Linked DNA regions of Homo sapiens: region 2 is linked to region 1. The links are contacts of gene promoters, found by promoter capture Hi-C in human tissues and cell types (Jung and others, 2019). All regions are on one chromosome and are shown on one strand. Each heading gives the region's core, a stretch centred on a gene start or on the middle of the fragment in contact. The rest is flanking DNA. Distances are from core to core; before and after follow the strand shown. Region 1 holds the start of EML5 (EMAP like 5). Region 2 overlaps FOXN3 (forkhead box N3).

Region 1 (5,949 bases), core at 1,501-4,000:
AGGGTACCTAATCAGTAGCCAGCACATGATTTATTTGCCTGAATTTTAGAAATATTTCAAATATCTCAAATTCCATACTAGGAACTCAAGTTTCAGGAACTAGATTACCAAAGGGGGTGATATGGTTTGGCTGTATCCCACCCAAATATCACCTTGAATTGTAATAATCCCCACATGTCAAGGGTGGTGCCAGGTGGGGATAATTGAATCGTGGGGGTGGTTTCCCCCATACTGTTCTAGTGGTAGTGAATAAGTCTCATGAGATCTGATGGTTTTATAAATGGAGCTCCCCTGCGCAAATTCTTCTTGTCTGCTGCCATGTGCGACTTTGCTCCTCTTTGCCTTCCACCATGATTGTGAGGCCTCCTTAGCAATGCGGAACTGTGAGTCAATTAAACCTCTTTTCTTTATAAATTACCCAGTCTCAGGTATGTCTTTATTAGCAGCATGAGAACGGACGAATACAGGGGGTATTGCAGCCTTCGTCTGGAATGCTTAACAAATGTCCATTTGTTGATGTGTATAATTTTTTGTTTCTTTCTCCCACATCCTTATTTGCATTACTTTCACAGGATACAGATGATGGAATATCACCTAGCAATAGAAGCTTCATTAAGCTTTCTGATGTGACATTGGTAATACTGGATTATATAAAGTTGTGAGGGTAAGAACTGATCAGGTTTGTTTTTTTCTTCCTCTAGTATTCATGAATGGTTCATTTTCTAGCCACCTTTGTGCCTCGGCTGTCTCTTTTGGTCTTGAGTCGCCAGTTGAGGATGGTTTAATTAAGAATGTTTTTGCTTCGCACTCTACACTTGGGTCATTAAAATCGTAATGGAAAATATGATAATGGGAAAATAAATTACTTAAATCTCTTATTAATCTGAGTACTTAAGTGTGTATCATGGGATCCATAAGATATTGTGCTGAAAAATCCGAAACATAGAAAAAACTATATTCTTCCATCTCGTCTCATAAAATTTACATGTAACCAGTAATTAATATATCACAAATGTATAGCAACAAATATTTAATGTTTTCTAAGTTCACTGCTTGAATTTAAATAATCAACAATTTTTCTTTTTCTCACCAGGGGATTTCAAGGAACTCACTAGTGAATTAGAACATATTCTTATTAAAAAACAGAAAACGCCCTCCTGGTGACAAAGAGAAACTGTGTGTGCTTTTGCCCAGGGTACCCTACATGGGCCTTAGAGCCACTTCTCAGGCCTGATTTCTTTGTTTATTTGCAGCAGCTGCCAGAAAGCTATTCCTCTTTTTCAGATTCTGCCCAGAATGGAAACTCTTTCAGAGTTTACTTTTCATGACATCTATGTAAATTCCTTTCAGATGGCCTTTATTTCCTGCATGTAAACTGCTTGCAGATTAGAAGTCATAATCAAAGACGAAACGGTAATCCTGTCTCAAGTTAGTAACTGGCATCTTTGAGGAAGTAGACATTGGATAACATCTATTCCAATATATCTGTACCACACAGGAGTCAACCCCTTTTGGAGTCATATTTCTTGAAACGATGGTAGTTTATTTTAGCTTTTGTCAGATTTCTGTCTTGGTATTTCCTATGGAAATCAAACAGTAATTTTTAGACAATAAGGGTTCATATTGGTATATCCTGAATTAGTATTTTTTTGTTGTAAATCTTGTGGCCATCCTGAACTTAACACTTTTTAAATTGTGGATTTCCAATTATTTTTAGAGGTATTGATAAATCTTGTTCATATTCCTGTGAGAAGAGGACACAACTGAGTAGGAGGGGAAATGACATAGTCAGGAATTGATTGTTCCCAATACTTTTATTACAGGAGTTTTCTACAGGATCACAATTGAATTTATTTAATTAAGAGTAACTGTTGGTGATGTCCCAGTCATTTTTAAAAAAATCGAAGTACAATTTTTTTTTTTTTTGCTATTCGGAAATCAGATCTCACATGTCAGTTTACCATCTAAAGTCTACCTTCAGCTTTGCGGTCACTTAAGAAAACATACACTTAGGACCAGGAGCAGTGGATTGGGCCTGTAATCCCAGCGCTTTGGGAGGCCTGAGGCAGAAGAACTGCTGAAGGTCAGGAGGTGGAGACCAGCCTGGGCAACACAGCAAGACCCCCGCCTCTACAAAATAAACTTAAAAACAAAGCAAAACATTTGCCGGGCATAGTGGTACGCAACTGTACTCCTTACTACTCCGGAGACTGAGGCGGGAGGATCGCTGGAGCCCAGGAGTTGGAGGCTACAGTGAGCTGAGACTGCGCCACTCCACTCCAGCCTGGGCGACAGAGCGAGGCTCTGTTTCTAAAAATAATAATTTAAAAGCACATTTAGGAAGCTCGGCATCATTCCAATGTCTGGGTCCGAAAGCACTATAAGGCAGCAAGACACACAAGGTATCAAGCGTAAAAAAGAGAATTTAGCATCCCGGTGTGGATTTTCCCAGGCAAAAACGTGGCCTACGCTGGGTGCAGGGACCGTGCGGAACCGGCAGGTGCTTCCCGGTTGAGGACGCAAAGCAGCGGGAGCCCGGGGTCGCCGAGGGTCCGCCTGGGCTTAAGCAGCTCAACGAGGGAGGGCTCACCGGCCCGCGCACTTGCAGAGACGCGGTCCCAGCGACTCCGCAACTAGACCGTGGCCCCGCGAACTCCAGCCTCTTCTCGGCTCCGGGAGGGGCGGAGTGAGCGCGGGAGGGGGCGGGGCCACGCAAGGCCGCGCGCCCGCCGCTCGGCTCGGCTCGGCTCGGCTCGCTCGGTTTCGGGGTGCGCGGCGCGGGTCCGCCAGGCTGTGGCTACAAAGCCGCGGCGGGGCGCGAGCGCCGCAGGTGACCGGGGCTGGGAGCTGCGTGCGCGGGCGGCGGCTGAGGAGCTGGAGGCGGGCCCTCGCTCTCGGCCCAGGCGCTACGGGCTGAGGAGACTAGGCGAGCCGAGGCGGGCGAAGGGCTCTGGGCATCCACTTGACAGCCGGCGGCGCTCGCGGCCCTCAGCATGTTCCGCGAGGCGAGGGTTTTCCTCCCGCCTGTGGGCTGAGGCGGCGGCGGCCCCCGAAACGAGATGCACCTGACGGGCGCGGCTTAGAGGACGCGGCTGGCGGGAAGTCCCGGCAGCCAGCGGGAGGGCTTTCGTTGCCGGGCCGCCGCCGCCTCCCGTCGCCGCCGCGGGCCCGAGCGGGAGCGGCGGGTGGGCGCCCCGACATGGCGGCCCGGAGCGCCCCGAGCTGCCACCTGCGGCTCGAGTGGGTGTACGGCTACCGGGGCCACCAGTGCCGCAACAACCTCTACTACACTGCGGCCAAGGAGATCGTATACTTCGTGGCGGGGGTCGGCGTGGTGTACAGCCCGCGGGAGCACAGGCAGAAGTTCTACCGGGGCCACAGCGACGACATCATCAGGTACCGGGGAGCGGGGGCCGCCGCCGTCACCCTGCAAGCCGCTCCCGGAGTTTGCACCCGCGGGTTCCTCTGGACGCCGTGACCGCTCCTGCACGGAGCATCACCCCGAGGGGAATCCGCAGCTGTCTCTCTGGTCCCGAGTCCACCAGTTAACACCCTACAAATGCCTTTCCCCTCTTCCTCGTCTAGGGACTCTCTCTCGGGTCCGTGCAGGAAGATCAGGTCCGCGGATCCACCGGGCACCCGGTTTGACGGCTTTGTCCCCTTTCCCACTCCATCACAATTACGAAAACTGCGAAAAGGTTATTTTGGTGGCACTTTATTCCGTTAGATCCTGTGAGAAATTTCTTATTAAACGCATTCTTAAAGCACCCGGGGTGGGGGGAAACCCTTTACCTAATAAAGGACTGATGGAAGCACAGCAAGCGGTGGGCTGCTCCCGGGGAGCGCGCCCAGGGTGGCGTCCTGAAGGGCTCTCACCTCCTGGCCGTAATTATTAGTTCAGGTTTCACCGCCTGCTATAATCAGCAGAAACCCCAGGCAACCTCCAGGCAATTCACTGGATGTTAAAATGTGCACACCTGAAGGCAATTTAAGGTAGGTCTTATCTGAAGAGGCTGCTGAAAACTTCACTGATTTCCAGTTCTCTTCATCTTCATTAAAATACTCCTAAATAAGCTACTTTTGTATTTTCTTAAAATTAAATCGCTATTGGGGGGCTATTTTTAGTCTTCCTTGGACAATAACTCAAAGTTGGTCCCAGAGCTTGTTGACATTTCTTTAGTGAGCGGTATATTTGAAATGTAATTTTCAATCAGTGTCTTAGTACAACTTTTATGGTAAAGTCAAGAGCTTCAGAAATCATTCTAGGCCACTGATTATTGCCTCAAGCACAGCATTTTTTGTCCTTTACAGAGGAAAATATATTAAAAGCAATTGAGAATGTGTTTGTGTGGTGCTCTTGGGGTTTTATCAAAGATTCTACGATTTGGGTTTGGTTACAAAATGTTATTCCCTCATGTATGTTGCACAGGATTTAAATTGGGCATTTCAAATACGGTACCTTGGTTTGAAGTCTTGTAGGCAAGAAGCCCTGGTATGTAAATTCCACAAATAAAGTTGTTCTTCTGTTTTGCGTCTCTGTACATCTATAATATGTAAGAGGGAAAGGATGCCTAGGACAAACAGAGGTAGGGCAAGATGGAGTAAAGATAAGAAAAGACAAAATTGAGATTGCAGAGTAAGGAATGAGGTGGTGCTCTGTATTCAGTTGGTTTTTTTTGTTTGTTTTTGTTTTTTGGACACCAGAGTGCTTTTTCAGATTGTATTTAATGTATTACTTTGAAAAGGTAACTGATAAGTCATTTCATTTTTCTCAAGCTGGGACTCTGTATCGTGGTGATTAGGGTTACAGACCTATTATAATAGCCCAAATTGCTGATGGAAAAACAAAACTAAAGTAAACCCGTAGTAATTATTTATCTTCTTAGTTATCCCAAGAGTAGAGTTTACCCCAGTGTCTTGTCTTTTTCCCTAATCCTTTCAAGTCTCCCTTCTTTTCCATATGCTAGGTCTCCCAAAGTACCAGGCATAGTAGCTTTACCTAGCTGGAGCAGCCTTAACTGAAGCCCTGCTCCAGATAATTTAGTCTGTTAGGTTGAATTCAGCTGGTGGAGTAAATGTGAAGGATTTTGAGGTCTTCTCGTGGTACACTTGTATTGTTTTTACTCCTTGGGGGTTATGAGAGCAGTATAGCACTAAGGTCTTCTGAAACTAGATATGATTTATTTGGTGAGGTAAATTACATCTTGTTCTTCTAGCAGTAATTAGAAGCTGTGTTATATGTCACACCGCTTAAATTTCATAATTGTGTTTCAGTAAACTGTAAGGAAGGTAATGCTTTGACTTTCTTTTGGTATAGTTGCACAACTTATACAAAACAACAAACATACTCGAATTTCTCATCGTTGAATATACATGCTTATGATTTTATCCAAATGACACATCTTTAATGTATAACAATGAAAATAAGTTTCCTGAAAAGTTTCAATGAGGGAGTAAAATCTGAATCATACAGCATCTTGAAATTGGTGGCACAAATTTAATATGATACTGAGAATATAATTTAGGAATCAGTGAAAGGGCTCTGGACATTTTATTTCAAATAGTAATGACAGATCATTCATGTTTGTGAAATATATTGAGCTAATATTAAAACCTCAATATTTTTTCAGTTCAGTGTTTGACTTGTGAGTATAGAAACAACTCTAGTAATTTTTAAATTATGCCACAGCAGAAGATGTAATATTCACAAATGTGATGCATAGTGAAAACCAATGTTGCTGTAACCTTAGCTTTAGTAATAAAAAGTCAGTGCTGTTTTCATCATCTGTTTTGTTTCCACCTTTGCCTGAAACTTATGTAAAACTTATTGGTCAAATATTACTTAGTCTGAGGATAGAACTGTTCCAGAATGAGCAGATCATTGTCCTCAGGTTTTGAAAATGTGAGTGCAATGTTGGTGGTAAAGGCTGAATCATGACTAGTCTATCA
Region 2 (6,202 bases), core at 1,944-4,443, 610 kb before region 1:
CGAGCGTGCAGATCTGAATATTCATAAGTTTCTGGTTCCCTCCTCCCCAGGTCCTTATTTTTGTGTAGCTGTAACCATCAAAGTATGCCCCTTTAATCAGGGAGAGGAATTTCCTTGACCATGAAGCTCTTTCTCCTTCCCTCCGTATCTCAGGTTGGGCATTTGGAGAGCCACCTCTGGACTTGGCTTTTTTTGAGTGCTTTAAGATTATTCTTTGAGCTTAGAGGACATTCATTGCTCCTCTGTAAAGAACCAGGTCTGTGGTATTTAAAGCTTCTGTATAGGTGGGTCTTTGTGGCAAGAAAGGGAAAGTCTTCAAAAGCAATTCCAGACTGAGAACGTGGAGAAGAAAGTGCTGCTCAGGTCCCCCAAAGCCTCACAGCAGTGATAAAGCAACAAACAGGGCGTTTAGTTTGGTGTAAAACGAGTCTGCAAGTTCCTGCATGCTTGAATCTTCGTGTTTGACATAATGCCGGTGCACATAGAAGTAATTTAGCAAATGCACACTCTGAAATGTTAGAAAAGACCAACGCCAAGGCGTGCAGCGAGACTTGGGAACATTATTCATCAGTCAGCCTTGGGAGTGACAAGTGGGTGTTGGATGCCCTGTGTTGAGGCACACTGGGAGGAGCTGTTCTCCCGCCATGCGACCCCCCCGTCCCCCACCGCTGGATTCTGGGAGTCATGTTTTCCAGGGATGAAGATTGTCAATCCGGATACATTCAGGTATCACCTGTTGAAAGAGAATGGTTTTAAAGACTTGAGATTGTTAATGTTATGAAACATTCAGTTCTGGCTTCCCAGCCATCCTGACCTGTGTTGACATGTTTCTGATCAAATGCCAGTCAGTTTTGTGGTTGGGAGTTTGTTCCCAGCATTTGCGATTCTGTGAGAACAAAGCAAGAGGTGTGAGTTTTTCCACTTTTCTCCTCTTTCTTGGGTTCCCCCAGGCCAGCTGCTGGCTGCTGTGAGAGGTGCAGGCTCCCAGGTATGCTCAGGTACACCCAGGTCCTTCCAGGGCATTGACCTGGCCCAGTCACTTGGGGTATGCTACTATGGCATTCTCCCTGATACTCTGCCCAGTGAAAGCTCCTTTAGCTCTATGGGTAAACTTGTTTTTTCCTATGAGATTTTATTTGGCGGGAGCTCCCACACTGAAGTTGCCTTCAACACAGTGACTAAATGCACCTGAAGGTTGGTGAGAAATACCTTAAATTGAACGAGAACATTGAAACCTTGCAAGTTGTATGCAGTGAATTAGCTATTCCACTTTTAATTTTCTTCTGAAAGTGAAGAATACGGTTAGGCTTGACGTAGCAGTGAAAATGTGGAATCCTGTGTGATCCCTGTCCCTGAGGGCTTGGAACACATACCCTGCTGGACAACTGTTTGGCTGGGATGTTGGGGAGGGAACATACTAGATTACATCACCTGTGGCACTTAAAAAACAATTCCCAGCCGGGCACGGTGACTCACACCTGTAATCCCAGCACTTTGGGAGGCCAAGGCGGGAGGATTGCTTGAGTGCAGGAGTTTGAGACCAGCCTGGGCAACATGTATGTCTCTACAAAAAATACAAAAATAATTGGCTGAGCATGATGGCATACTCCTGTAGTCCCAGCTACTCAGGAGGCTGAGATGGAAGGATGGTGTGAGCCCGGGAGGTGGAGGTTGCAGTGAGCCGAGATACAGCCTAGGTGACAGAGCCAGACCCTGTCTCAAAAAAAAAAAAAATTCCCGTTTTCTTGGGCCCCTTTCTGGAGATTGTGATTCATTAGGTGTGAGGTGGGTTGGGGAAAACTGGTAGTTCTGCTAAGCTTCCTAGGTGTTTCCAGCATGGAGCCAGGTTTGAGAATCCCTGAACTAGGTGCCCTCTTGAGGTCTTTCCAGTTGCTGAGATTTCATCAAGAGCATGTTCTCATGAATGAGTCAGTCAGGGCAAAAGAGACAGCTTGGCTTTCGTTTTATCTCTGAAAGGACTTCAGAAGATAAGAGTTTTATTTTTATTTTTGAATCACGGAAATTTTCAAACATACACAGAACTAGAATCGTATAATGACTTGATATACCCCCATAACACACATCCTGATTCAGTAGTTGACAAAGGTTTGTCACACTTATTTTATTTATTCTTTTTTGTTGTCGCTGTTTCTGAAGTTGTTTTTCGGTTTTTTGTTTTGAGACAGGGTTTCACTCTGTTGACCAGGCTGGAGCGCAGTGGCATAATCATGGCTTATTGCAGCCTCAGACTCTCATGCTCAAGCCTTAGCCTTAGCCTCCGAAGGGGGGACTACAAGTACATACCACCATGCCTGGCTAATTTTTTTTTTTTGTATTTTTCATAGAAACGGGGTTTCGCCATGTTGCCCTGGCTGGTCCCAAATTCCTGGCCTCAAGCAATCCTCCTGCCCCAGCCTCCCACAGTGCTGTGGATTATAGGCATGAGTCGCTGCACCCAGCCTTGCTGAAGTAGTTTGAAGCAGATGACATTTACAATTCAAACATTTCGGTATACATAAGAATAATTGACGGTTTCTTACATAACAACCATGCTCAAGTCCCCCCTAACAAAATGAACAATTATTTGGTGTTGCCTAATGCCAGGTCCATATTCAGATATCCCTGTTTACAAAATGTTTGTTTGAATTAGGGTCCAAATGTGGTTCCTGCAGTGCCTTTTGTGATGTTTCCTGTCTGTGTCAGTCTGCAGCACTCCTATGCCCTCTTTCCTTTTTCATTCCCTTCCCTGTTAAAAGAGACCCATGGCTTACACTATAGAGTACTTGCATTCTGTTTACTTCCTTGTGATTTCGTGTAACTTGCTTCTCTCTCTCCTTCTATTTCCTGTCAAATGGAAGGAAGTACGAACGTCTGGGTCACATTCTGGATATATCACTTCCAGAAGCCTGGTCATCCCCCTCTTGGGGAAGCTGAGATTGAGCCATGGGTTCACATGAGGTCACTGTTCCCTACTCTATAAAATTTCTCATTAGTTTTTTTTTTTTTTTTTTCATTTCGTCTATGGATGATCTGTGCCTAAATCAATTAAGGTAGAGTTTTAATGTCTGGGATTAAGTTTTACACTCCCTAAATACAGGTCTTACTTAGGAGTGTAAGATTAGCATGTACTAACCTCTCTGAGTACTTGTAAATGAGAAGTAGAATGCAGTTATTTTTTTCCAGACTGGATTATAAGGTATGTGTGTATTTCTATTTCTGTGCCTTTTTTTTTTAACCTTTCCTCTTGCTACTTGAACAAAAAACATTGTCATCAAAGGGTTTATAAAGGAAACACTGTACAAAAGTATGTTTATTATATCCAGAGCTGAGTGCTTTAAATACAATTTTAGCTTATAAATATAGGCATGCTTGCTTTGTGCTTTCCATATGCAGTATCTGATTTCTTCCTCACTAAACCCTATGAAGTAGGCCCTATTATTTTCTTTCTTAAAATAGATGATGAGTTAAGCTCTGAGTGGTTAAGTAACTTGCTAGAAGTTGCACAGCTAGCAAGTGCAGAACTTACTAGGAACCTAATTGGAAGGAACCTAATTCCTTCCAACTTTTTAAAAATTATTGATTTAATTTATTTTTGAGACAGGGTCTCTGTCACACAGGCTGGAGTACACTGGCATGATCATAGCTCACTGAAACCTTGAACTCCTGGGCTCAAGTGATCCTCCTGACTCAGCCTCCCAAGTAGCTGAGAATACAGGTGCATGCCACCACATCCAGCTAATTTCAAGATTTTTTTTTTTTGTAGGGCTGCGCACTGTGGCTCATACCTGTAATTCCAGCACTTTGGGAGGCCGAGGCAAGCAGATGACTTGAGCCCAGGAGTTTGAGACCAGCCTAGGCAACATGATGAAACTGCATCTCTGCAAAAGATAAAAAAATTAGCTGGGCATTGTGGCACGCACCTGTAGTCCCGGCTACTCAGGAGGCTGAGTTGGGAAGATCGCCTGGTGACAGAGCTAGATCCTGTCTCCAGAAATAATATATTTTTAGTAAAGGTGGGGTCTTGCTGTGTCGCCCAGTCTGGTCTTGAACTCCTGTCCTCAAGTAATCCTCCCAATTGTGAGCCACCATGCTTGGCCCGATTCCCTCCAATTCTGAAGGGCATGTGCTTACCCCTGGTGCTTGCCTAGGCCTTCTCAGTATAGCAGACATTGTAGATGATCTCTCTGTGCTTCCTTTAAATATCCTGTGAATATGGGTTATAGGGGATTGAAATAACCCAAATAAACCCAGAATTAACTCTGGGGGCACAGGATAGAGAAAGGCAAATACAGAGTATATTTTTGTACCGTTGAGATGGGGCTCAATTGTCAGCACATGTAAAGTTCTTGCATCTGCACAGAGCACACAACTGTCTGCTCAGCTTCCGGTTTCCAGGCTCCATCCTGAGCCCCCTGCCTCATAGGACCCCTTCAGTGGCATCAGAGCCAAGTGAGGAAGCTTTTCTCCCTGCGTGTACACTGTTGATACAAATTGTCTCTAATTTGCTGTTCTCTTCACGTTTGCTCTCGGTAGATGAGATTCTTTTTCAAAGGCAGTTTTGAAAATGAGGTCGCACCCAGGTGTGGTGGCTCACGTCTGTAATCCCACACTTTAGGAGGCCAAGACGGGGGCATCATTTGAGGCCAGGAGTTCAAGACCAGCCTGGCCATCATGGTGAAACCCTGTCTCTACTAAAAATACAAAAAGTAGCCGGGTCTGGTGGCGGGCGCCTGTAATCTCAGCTACTTGGGAGGCTGAGGCAGGAGAATCGCTTGAACCCGGGAGGCAGAGGTTGCGGTGAGTGAAGATCACGCCACTACACTCCAGCCTGAGCGACAGAGTGAGACTCTGTCTCAAAAAGAAAAACAACAACAAAAAAAGAAACTGAGGTTGCACCTCTATGTGTCAGCACCCCACGTGAGCAGTTGCTTCTAGTTTTCTCTTCTTGGTGTTGTGAATGCAGAATCAAGAGCATTTCCCCTAACCGTGACACCAGTCAACCTACCTGTCTCATTGATGGACCTTTTAGGAGGAAGAGATGACTTATTATTATTATTTTTTTGGATAAATAATGCTCATTGGAAGACAGTGTGGTCTGGTTCGGATGTGTAAATTCCTAAGAATTAGTGTAATGTTGGGTGGGGTGGAACATGTAATTTTGTAATGTGTGTGAGACTCCTCTGTGGTCTCTGGGTGAAGTGACAATCCTCTTCATCCTCGACCTGGGGCTGCCTTGTCCAGCGTCGGAAATGGCTCTCCCTGAAGACGGCCTCCTTCTCACCGGTGCCTACTGCCAGGCGGGCTGCTTTCTGCTGTCTGTGCTATAGGCTATGTCACCTCAGAAGGTTGAGAGTTTACCAGGGTCTCTGAGGGGCCAGAAATAAAAATACTCCCTTGTCACAGGCCCTGGAATAGGAAGCCATTCATACCAGCATCCTGTGATCCCAAGAAAGCGCAGCTCCCTGACCCATCCTGCCGATTTTTTTTTTTTTTTTTTTTTTTTTTGAGACAGAGTCTCGCTCTGTCACCCAGGCTGGAGTGCAGTGGTGCAATCTCGGCTCACTGCAACCTCCGCCTTCCCAGGTTCAAGCGATTCTCCTGCCTCATCCTCCTGAATAGCTGGGATTACAGGTGCGTGCCACCACACCCAGCTAATTTTTGTATTTTTAGTGGAGACAGGGTGTTTGTTGGTCAGGCTGGTCTCGAACTCCTGACCTTGTGATCTGCCCGCCTCGGCCTCCCAAAGTGCTGAGATTACAGCCGTGAGCCACCGTGCGCAGCCCCATCCTGCTGATTTGTTCCTTCCAGACTGTTCGTTCCTTCTTCTTCCAGTCAGTAGGTGTCTTGGGTGGGGGCACATTTCCGTTGTCTTGCTCTGGCAAACCTTTCATTTGTCTGCTCATTCATTCATTTATTCAACAAACTTTTTAAAGTACCTACTAAGTGCTAAAAGAATACAGAATTGAATGTACCATGGCCACTGCCTGTAAGGCACTCATGGTCCAGCGAGCCCTCCCCTCAGAGTCTCCCTCTCACTAGTGGAACTTCTCTAGCAGAAGCTCTTACTCCACTGCTGTATGCCCTTTGTATTCTCTGTTTTCTGTCTCACATCGTTGCTTTTCTGGCCCTTCATGGATACACTACCTTTCTACTCCTCACAGTGACTTGGCCAGGAAGATGCCACTAACCTGGATAGGGGTCT

Evidence for each region. The method cuts DNA at HindIII sites, captures the fragments that hold promoters and counts their contacts. A contact is called where the count stands out against the background at its distance.
Region 2: a contact is called between a fragment that was not itself captured here and the fragment with the promoter of EML5 in region 1, in 1 of the 25 tissues and cell types used here (dorsolateral prefrontal cortex).

The regions. Positions count from the first base shown.
Region 1 is chr14:88,789,754-88,795,702 of GRCh38, reverse strand. EML5 (EMAP like 5) reads left to right here and starts at 2,750. Exons shown (of 44, transcript NM_183387.3): 1 at 2,750-3,396. The coding sequence starts at 3,200. RefSeq lists silencers at 2,610-2,969, 3,160-3,239. The HindIII fragment of the contact is 27,448 bases long and covers 1-5,949 here.
Region 2 is chr14:89,403,808-89,410,009 of GRCh38, reverse strand. The region is part of intron 2 of FOXN3 (forkhead box N3); the gene reads left to right. Among named protein-coding and RNA genes, the nearest start is that of FOXN3, 10 kb to the left of the region's middle. The HindIII fragment of the contact is 4,295 bases long and covers 1,046-5,340 here.